Regions from separate parts of the Homo sapiens genome. Here region 1 is linked to region 2. Evidence: promoter capture Hi-C in 16 types of primary human blood cells and fetal thymus (Javierre and others, 2016). All regions are on one chromosome and are shown on one strand. Each heading gives the region's core, a stretch centred on a gene start or on the middle of the fragment in contact. The rest is flanking DNA. Distances are from core to core; before and after follow the strand shown.

Region 1 (4,923 bases), core at 1,346-3,845, 150 kb before region 2:
AAAAAGAGAGAGAGAGACGCTGTAGTCGAAGCTACATTTCCTAGCACAGTGGTGGGCCAGTACAGCTATTATCTTAACTACTTTAACCTAAAACATTAAGTTGGAATCTATGAATTTACAAAGTGCTCCAATGTCTCAGGACATTGTTTTGAAAGAAGCAGCCACTCAGGACAGTTAACTCCAAAGGGTTGTAAACTAAGCTATCAAAAGCACTTATTTTAAAATGTGCATGTGACACTGCATAAAGCAAAAATTGCTTTCTGGAAGGATAAAGATACTGAAGATATATATAATAAAAAAGTACAAATGCTTGGAGAGTAGTAAAATGTGGGAGTTATACAATGTAAGTGAAGAACTCACTCATCCAATAATAAAACTTTATGAAGAGTTTCAGGTGACATTTACTTCCAAAACTGAAGAGGTTAAAATTATCCTTCTATATGAGTCTAAAAATTATGAGGAAAGGACATCCTAGTTTTGTCATGATACTTTTCGGAACACTTAGCAGTTTCCATAATGCCTTACCTTACTTGCCAACCCATGTTGTTCCTTTTGCTATCTTATCCTATCACTTGCATAGTGAAATTTCTTGTAAAAGAGTAATTTCATTACATTTATTGCTTCCATTTCCTTTCCCACCTTCAAGTCAGTGACTCTTTAGCCCATGAAGTCTGGTTTCCCATCCTACCTCACTCCTTCATTTCATTTCAAATTAACTTTTTAAATCTTTTCTCTGAATCTTTTAGTACTATTTACCATCCCCCAGTTCTTGAAAGTACATTCTCTCTTCCTTGGACTTGCTACATTTTCCTCCTTAGCCTAACTACCATGCCTTCAGATGTTAGTTCAGATTTCTGTGGTAAGTCCTGCCTGATCAAAAACTGGGTTAGGTATCCCTCCAACACGTTCCCACAGTATCGTATCTTATATTTGCCCTACCAAAGCACTTACCACTCTTTCTGAATATGTCACCTTACTACTTATCTACCCAACTAACCTGCAAATTATCTGGTTAGGAATTATGTATTTATTCTCCATTGTTTCTTAGAATAGTGCCTAGTGTGTTCAATGAATAGGTTTCTCCATCATCAGTTACAAGTACAAAACAAAAATTTACACTGTAAATCTCAAGTCATGATTTTGAATTCTAGTTTGTTGAGATTGTTAGACCATATTAAGAACAGCGAGAAAGTTATAGTGGATATTTGGAAGCAGCCAAGCTTCAGTACTCAAATCAGAGTTAAGATTTAAGTTAAGAAGGAACTGTCTATGATAGGGCAGGAGGAAAAACGCCAAGAAGTAAGGAAACCTTGTAAAACCTGGGTCTTAGTATTACCTCACAGAAACATTTAACTGTAAGCACTATATAAATGTCAACTGGCAAGGAGAATCTGTTAAAGACAATAAAATAGTCAAAATATTAATATATTGTAACAGTAGTACTTTTTAAAAAATATTCAAATTAGAATTGTGATTTAAGGTAAGAGAAATGATACAATACTCAGGTTGGAAGAAAATTGAAAGAGTATCTTATTCAACTCATCAGAAAGAAAAAAGAAACTGTTGGGTGCGGTGGTGCACACCTGTAATCCCAGCACTATGGGAGGCCAAGGTGGGTGGATCACCTGAGGTCAGGAGTTCAAGACCAGCCTGGCCAATATGGTGAAACCCCGTCTCTACTAAAAATACAAAAATTAGCCGGGTGTGGTGGCCGGCGCTTGTAGTCCCAGCTACTCGGGAGGCTGAGGCAGGAGAATCACTTGAACCCAGGAGGCGCAGGCTGCAGTGAGCCAAGACTGTGCCATTGCACTCCAGTCTGGGCAACAAGAGCAAAACTCGTGTCAAAAAAAAAAGAGAAAAGGAAAGAGGCCAGGCGCGGTGGCTCACGCCTGTAATCCCAGCACTTTGGCATGCTGAGGCGGGCAGATCATGAGGTCAGGAGATCGAGACCATCCTGGCTAACATGGTGAAACCCCGTCTCTACTAAAAACACAAAAAATCAGCCAGGCGTGATGGCAGACGCCTGTAGTCCCAGCTACTCGGGAGGCTGAGGCAGGCGAATGGCATGAACCTGGGAGGCGGAGCTTGCAGTGAGCCGAGATCGCACCACTGCACTCCAGCCTGGGCGACAGAGCAAGACTCCGTCCCACCCCCCCCCCTCCAAAAAAAAAGAAAAGAAAAGAAAAGGAGAAGAAACCAAAACTGGAGGAGCGTGGTGGCTCACACCTATAATGCCAGCACTTTCAGAGGCCAGGTGGGCAGACTGCTTGAGCTCAGACAAGTTCCAGACCAGCCTGGGCAACATGGTGAAACCCCGTCTCTACAAAAAAACCAAAACAAACAAACAAACAAAACACACACACACAGGTGAAACCCCGTCTCTACAAAAAAAACAAACAAACAAAACAAAACAAACAAAACACACACACACACACACAGAAAAATCAGCCAGACATGGTGGCATGCGCCTGTGGTCCCAGCTACTTGGGAGGCTGAGGTGGGAGGATCGCTTGAGCCCAGGAGTTTGAGGCTGCAGTGATCACATCACTGCACTCCAGCCTAGACAACAGAGCAAGGCCGTCTCAAAAGAAAGAAAGAAAAAAGAAAAACCCAGTGACATTAAATGGCTTACCTCCCGCTAAAGCCAAAAATTTCACGTTAGAGTTACGATCAGAACTTGAGAATTTGAAAATTCAGTTCACCACTTTACCTACTAAATAACTCACTGATCATTCTATTTCTCTAAGAGTACTTTATTTTCTTTTAAAACTTTTCTCATCACTTGTACATGTGAACAAGTTAACTCCCCACAAATGGACCCCATTAGAGATACACATATACAACTCTAAGATAAACAATAAAAATCCTTCAATATAAATATAATATTAGCCAGGCTTGATGGTGCACGTCTGTAGTTCCAGCTACTTGGGAGGCTGAGGGAAAAGGATCACTTGAGCCCAAGAGTCTGATGAAGGCTGTAGTACACTGACTGTGCCTGTGAATAGCCATAACACTCCAGCCTGGGTAGCATAGTGAGACCCCCATCAACCAAATAATTGTTAAAATAACAGTGTCAAAGACTTGTTATATAGTAATTATTAGAAAGAGATGCTTAACTATTAAAGCAGAGAATATGAACAAGACAGTTGTAATTATCATAGAATTAAGTTATCTTAGACATCTTAAGACTAAACTTCCTTAGTAAACACTCAAGTAAATCAAGTAAGTAAATCATCTCAGTTCAGTAAATTCTATTTTATATTTTGAGACGGAGTCTCACTCTGTCGCCCAGGCTGGAATACAGTGGCATGATGTCAGCTCACTGTAACCTCTGCCTTCCAGGCTCAAGCAATTCTCATGCCTCAGCCTCCCAAGTAGCTGGGATTATAGACATGCACCATCATGCCAGGATAATTTTTTTGTATTTTTAGTTGAGACAGGTTTCCGCCATGTTGGCCAGGCTGGCCTCAAACTCCTGGCCTCAAGTGATCTGCCCACCTTGGCTTCCCCAAGTGCTGGGATTATAGGCATGAGCCACTGAGTCCAGCTTCAGTTCAATAAATTTTTAGGAAGGTTATTTGTACTTAAGGGATTAACATCAGTTCTTTGGTTCTCTTGCTATATCACTGGTTCTGCTCCAACTCTGTCCCCACATACCATATTTAACAATCTCCATTTGAATGGATTTGATTAAGTGAAAATCTTATCTTCTGAAGAATTCTGAGAGTTCCCTAGCAAATAGTATTAACGGTATTTTATGAGTGTTTCTGGATATTTAAAAAACACTTAAAGTTTAAATCTATTTTAATTTGGATGAGAAAGAATTCTACTTACTGCCTACTATTACACAATTCTCCCATGGTGATAGAATAAACTCCAGAAAGATTTAGGTCTATAAATGACAACTTGGACAAGTTGTTGCTGCTTTAAAAAACAAATGGGGGTTGGAGGTAAGAGGAACCAAGCTTTTACTCTTTTTCTTCCTTTCCTCACACTGAATACATTGATAGGTTATGGCTTAGAGGTTACTACTCCCAGACCCACAAATTTTCCTTTGTTTAAATAATGGAAGTTGATTTACCCTCTGAAATACAAAGTCAGCACTAGCCTTAAACTACCAGATACTCACCGAGTTAGGGTAGTTCAAGTAGCAGATCTGACAAGGCATATCCTGTGCTGATGACCTTGTATTCATCTGGCGTGTTCGAGACTTTTTACTTGGATTAATTACATGACACTCAGCAAAGAGCTTCTCCAGGTTTCCATCAAAGTACCTGCATTATTTAAACAGAAAGGATAAGAGCCCAGCAACTTGCACACTGTTAGAGCTCTCCAAAAACCTGACTTTCTATAGGGAAAAGCAAGAAGTTGAATTAAAATAAAACAAGATAACAACCTTTTTATTCAGAGGAAATAAAAGCTACATGGTACAAATTATAGCAAATAAAGGTGTGTGTATACATGTGCATATATATATATATTGCAAACAGCAAAAATTCAGTCTACTCTCATATATATGAGTGTGTGTGTGTGTGTGTGTATGTATGTAAACTAGTAGACTGAGTTTTGCTGCCTTTTTCCCCCTAAACTTTGGTTTTAAATAACTGAATCTTGGGAAATTAAGCTATTAGTATTTTAACAGTACTGCAACTAAAACTTAAGGATTAAAGTTGTGCTGTTGCTGGGGTACCTATGAAGAGTAATATTTTACATGGGTAGGCTGTATTTTATACAAATGAATTCATTTTATTAATAATTTTAGTTAAAGCAATTTAAACATATTAGCTTCAGTAAAGCATTTATCTTACTGCACAAATCATCTTAAAAATATAATTATTACGTGTCTCATTTTACATAATAGACTTGCTTTCTAAACATTATTTTGAAATATTTTTAATTTACTGAGAAAGGAGGAGGAATAAA
Region 2 (5,025 bases), core at 2,189-4,688:
TACAGTCTGTAGAGATAAAACAAAGCATAAACAAAGGTGAGTGACAAAGTGACTCCACAAAATCTGAGTGACAGGCTGGCTTGATTTCCTTGATTTTCTTTATCTGCATAAAGGTGAATCCAGGGCTCCAAGAAATAAACTATTCACTGCTTTAAGTGACATAATTTCGGGATTCTAATGTATTAATTTTTTTCTTTTTTGAGACAGGGTCTCACTGTGTCACCCAGGCTAGAGTACAGTAGCTCAATCTCGGCTCACAACAACCTCTGCATCCCAGGCTCAAGCAACTCTCCACTTCGGCCTCCCAAGTAACTGGGATTGCAGGTGCCCACTACCACGCCCAGCTAATTTTTGTATTTTTTGTAGAGACAGGGTTTTACCTTGTTGCTCAGGCTGGTCTTGAACTCCTAAGCTCAAGTGATCCCCCACCTCAGCCTTCCAAAGTGCTGATATCAGAGGTGTTTGAACCAGAACAACTCCATCTTGAATAGGGGCTGGTTAAAATAAGGCTGAAACCTACTGGGCTGCATTCCCAGGAGGTTAAGGCATTCTTAGTCACTGAATGATAGGAGGTCAGCACAAAATACAGGTCATAAAGACCTTGCTGATAAAACAGGCTGTGGTAAAGAAGCCAGCCAAAACCCGCTAAAACCAAGATGGCAACAAAAGTGACCTCTGATCATCCTCACTGCTCATTATACATGAATTATAATGCATTAGCATACTAAAAGACACTCCCACCAGTGCCATGACAGTTAACAAATGCCATGGCAATGTCAGGAATTTACCCTATATGGTCTAAAAAGGGGAGAAACCCTTAGTTCCGGGAATTGCCCACCTCTTTCCCCAAAAACTTATGAATATAATTCACCCCTTGTTTAGCATATAATAAAGAAATAGCCATTAAAATGGGCAAACAGCAGCCCTCGGGGCTCCTCTTCCTATGGAGTAGCCATTCTTTTATTCCTTTACTTTCTTAAATTTGCTTTCACTTTACTCTATGGACTCATCTTGAATTCTTTCTTGCCCAAGATCCAAGAACCCTCTCCTGGGGTCTGGATCAGGACCCCTTTCTGGTAACACTGGGATTACAGGCGTGAGTCACCACACCCAGCCCTAATTTATTAAAAATTTAAATAATAATCTTAAGGATGAAATTTTAGCCTGGGCACCCAGTTACATAAATATGATTGCAGCTTAATCTTTTTGCCTAAACCTTTTAATCCATTTCTAGTTATTTCCTTGGAATTAATTTCTAGAAATGGAATTATTTACTCAAAGGAGATGAACATTTTTAAGTCTCTGGATACACCTAATCATATTGCTTTAGTTATACCAATTTGCATGGCATGTACAGGAATGCGTATGGGAGTGATAGCAGTTGCATTATCATTTAAAAATCTGTTAATATGGTGGTTGAAAAGTTACATCTTGTTATTCATTTGATTTACCTTTCTTTAATGATTGAGGTTAAATTATTTTTCCTATGTTTATTAGATAGTTATAGTTCTTCTTTTGTGCATGTCTGTTCAAAAAGAACTTATTTATTTGAGTTTGTGTCTTTGTAATACTTTGTGTATCCTTTTACTATATTAAGGCCATTAACCTTTATCTTTCATAATTGTTGCAAATATTTTCTCTAGTTTTCGTTTTATGCAGTTGAATTGTCTGTCTGCCTTTGATTTTAGTTTCTTCTCAAGATCATGCAGGATACTGTCCCTTAATATCAAATGTCACAGCCCATGGCCAAACAACTGATGCTGTACCTCAGAGTTGGGCACAGGTGCTCCCCTCCTGCTTATGTGAGGAGAATAGATGGGACCCCTGCTTATGTGATGAGAATAGATGCTTTACTCACATATGTTTTCTTTCACAATACCCACTTCTTTGTGTAAATGTATATCTTGCGGGTTATGGGAAAACTGTCAGTGTAATGATATCTTTCCTCTAAGTTTTTGGTTTGATTGAAAAATTCATGCATATGTTATTTTTAGCCCCAAAAACTTATTTTAAAATATTTTGTGTTGCACTTTCAGATTTATTTAAATTCACATAAAATTTGACATAAATAACATTATCTTCATAGCTGGCATTTGTTATACCACATATCTAACGTACATTTAAGTTCTATTCCACTGCTAGGAGAAGAACAAGCTGACCTTGAAAGTTAAATCTAATAGAGGTTAAGATATTTGCTTTATCTTCCAGCTATGATCAATCACTTCTCTTCTAATTCTGCAAGCCACATTAGAATACCAATCACATTGCTTAGCAGTAACACCTTGTAAATGAGTTATTCCTAGGGCAGGCATGGTGGCTTACACCTATAGTCCTGGTACTTTGGGAGGATCACTTGAGGCCAGGACTTTGAGACCAGCCTGGGAAATATAATGAGAACTTGTCTCTACAAAAGAAAAAAAAATTTAAAAAAATTAAAAATTAGCCAGGAGTGTTGGCACACATCTGTAGTTCCACCTACTCAGGAGGTTGAACAGGAAGATTGCTTGAGTCCTGGAGGTGGAGGCTGCAGTGAGCAATGATAGTGCTTTTGCACTTCGGCTAGGCGTTAGAGCAAGAGCCTGTCTCGAAAAACCAACCAACAAACAAAAACAGTTCTTCCCATAAAGAGAGTATAACCCATTATTTAGGACAGGAAACAACCTGGAATAGGAGAGAGAAAGGGCACACTGAGGATACCAAAGAAAGATCCATCCTGCACTTGGAGAGGTGAAGGCCAAAAGATCTTGGAGGAAGAAACATGAAGGGCCAATTTGTGTGAGCAGAAAGCTCTGCAATTGTGTGGGGCCTGTGGCATTTAATTCGGTGGCACTCACAGGGTGGCTTGGGTGTGTGGCTCCAGCACAGCTCATGGTTGCATAAGGTCCAGAGTCCTGCGTAGAGCTCAAGGCCATTCTTGATCACCAGAAACTGTACCCAGTTCAGTGGGGACATGGCGATCAGCATTAGGAGGCTAAAACTACAGAGGCTGCCACAGAGCGTTCGGATGTAGATGTGTGCCTGATCCATAAGCTGCTGCTGCCTTTGGCATGACATCGAGGCACTTGGATGTTTCTTGGCAGGGACGGTAGGCTACAAGGATGAGGGAAATATTGCCTACCCGAAAGAATAACCCCTGATCCCCAGGGTCACCCGCTCTTCTCTACCTCAAGCATTCCCATGTGTGTTTGATTTATAGATATTTTTCCCTACTCCTAAAAAAAAAAAACCCCACAATTTTCAGGGTGATCTTTTCTGTCTTTAGGATGCTCTGTGTAGCCCTGCCTTTAAGTAAGTTCTCTTCTTCCCATCTGACTTTCAATTAGATACCTCCTCACCCTTTGGTATTTCCGGTTCCCCTTTATTTTGGGAACCTCAGGACTGTGGAAAGTCAAGGTTAAATGTTCCCTTCGCTCCATCTTGGCAGTTAGTTCTCTAACTGCCACGGAATTTGTCTCTGCATCTCCTCACACATGCTGGCAGAAGCAAAAAGGGCCAGGACCCATGGCATAGATCCTGTTTCTGTTTTATATTTTTGATCTGGTCAGATCAGGAAGAAATCACCACATTTTAAGCATGTGCATGTATGTGTGATGCTCCCCACCCTCCATTCTCCACCTACTCCCAACTCTTTTATTAAATAAATCCACAAACATTTTGTTAGCAGTGGCTGTGTGTCAGGCTTTGTGCTAGCTTCTGGGACACAAAAATAAATAAGACACAGTTCCCTCATAGCAAATAAAAAAAGGGGAACTCATATGCTTGTTGGCCACATGTGTTTCTTCTTTTGAAAAGTGTTCATGCCCTTTGCCCACTTTTTAATGGGGTTATTTGTCTTTTTCTTGTAAATTTATTTGAGTTCCTTACAGATGCTGGATATTAGACCTTTGTCAGATGCATAGTTTGCAAAAAAATTTTCCCTTTCTGTAGGTTTTCTGTGTACGCTATTGATAGTTTCTTTTGCTATGCAGAAGCTCTTTAGTTTAATTAGATCCCATTTGTCAATTTTTGCTTTTGTTGCAATTGCTTTTTGCATCTTCATCATGAAATCTTTGCTGGTTTCTATGTTCAGATCATTAGAGAAATTAATCTTTGTATTTTTTTTTTAATTTTTTTATTTTTTTATTGATCATTCTTGGGTGTTTCTCGCAGAGGGGGATTTGGCAGGGTCATAGGACAATAGTGGAGGGAAGGTCAGCAGATAAACAAGTGAACAAAGGTCTCTGGTTTTCCTAGGCAGAGTGTTTGTGTCCCTGGGTACTTGAGATTAGGGAGTGGTGATGACTCTTAACGAACATGCTGCCTTCAAGCGTCTGTTTAACAAAGCACATCTTGCACCGCCCTTAATCCATTTAACCCTGAGTGGACACAGCACATGTTTCAGAGAGCACAGGGTTGGGGGTAAGGTCATAGATCAACAGGATCCCAAGGCAGAAGAATTTTTCTTAGTACAGAACAAAATGAAAAGTCTCCCATGTCTACTTCTTTCTACACAGACACAGCAACCATCCGATTTCTCATTCTTTTTCTCACCTTTCCCCCTTTTCTATTCCACAAAACCGCCATTGTCATCATGGCCCGTTCTCAATGAGCTGTTGGGTACACCTCCCAGACGGGGTGGTGGCCGGGCAGAGGGGCTCCTCACTTCCCAGTAGGGGCGGCCAGGCAGAGGCGCCCCTCACCTCCCGGACGGGGCGGCTGGCCGGGCGGGGGGCTGACCCCCCACCTCCCTCCCGGACGGGGCGGCTGGCCGGACAGAGGGGCTCCTCACTTCCCAGTAGGGGCGGCCGGGCAGAGGCGCCCCTCACCTCCCGGACGGGGCGGCTGGCCGGGCAGGGGGCTGACCCCCCACCTCCCTCCCGGACGGGGCTGCTGGCCGGGCAGAAGGGCTCCTCACTTCCCAGTAGGGGCGGCCGGGCAGAGGTGCCCCTCACCTCCCGGACGGGGCGGCTGGCCGGGTGGGGGGCTGACCCCCCACCTCCCTCCCGGACGGGGCGGCTGGCCTGGCGGGGGCTGACCCCCACCTCC

Evidence for each region. The method cuts DNA at HindIII sites, captures the fragments that hold promoters and counts their contacts. A CHiCAGO score of 5 or more calls a contact.
Region 1: a contact is called between a fragment that was not itself captured here and the fragment with the promoter of TMEM202 in region 2, in 2 of 17 cell types (naive B cells and total CD8 T cells). The highest score is 5.4, in naive B cells.

The regions. Positions count from the first base shown.
Region 1 is chr15:72,544,171-72,549,093 of GRCh38, reverse strand. ARIH1 (ariadne RBR E3 ubiquitin protein ligase 1) reads right to left here. Exons shown (of 14, transcript NM_005744.5): 3 at 4,130-4,274. Among named protein-coding and RNA genes, the nearest start is that of MIR630, 41 kb to the left of the region's middle. The HindIII fragment of the contact is 2,745 bases long and covers 1,223-3,967 here.
Region 2 is chr15:72,396,718-72,401,742 of GRCh38, reverse strand. TMEM202 (transmembrane protein 202) reads right to left here and starts at 3,438. Exons shown (of 5, transcript NM_001080462.3): 1 at 3,336-3,438; 2 at 2,835-3,090. The coding sequence starts at 3,416. The HindIII fragment of the contact is 10,109 bases long and covers 1-5,025 here.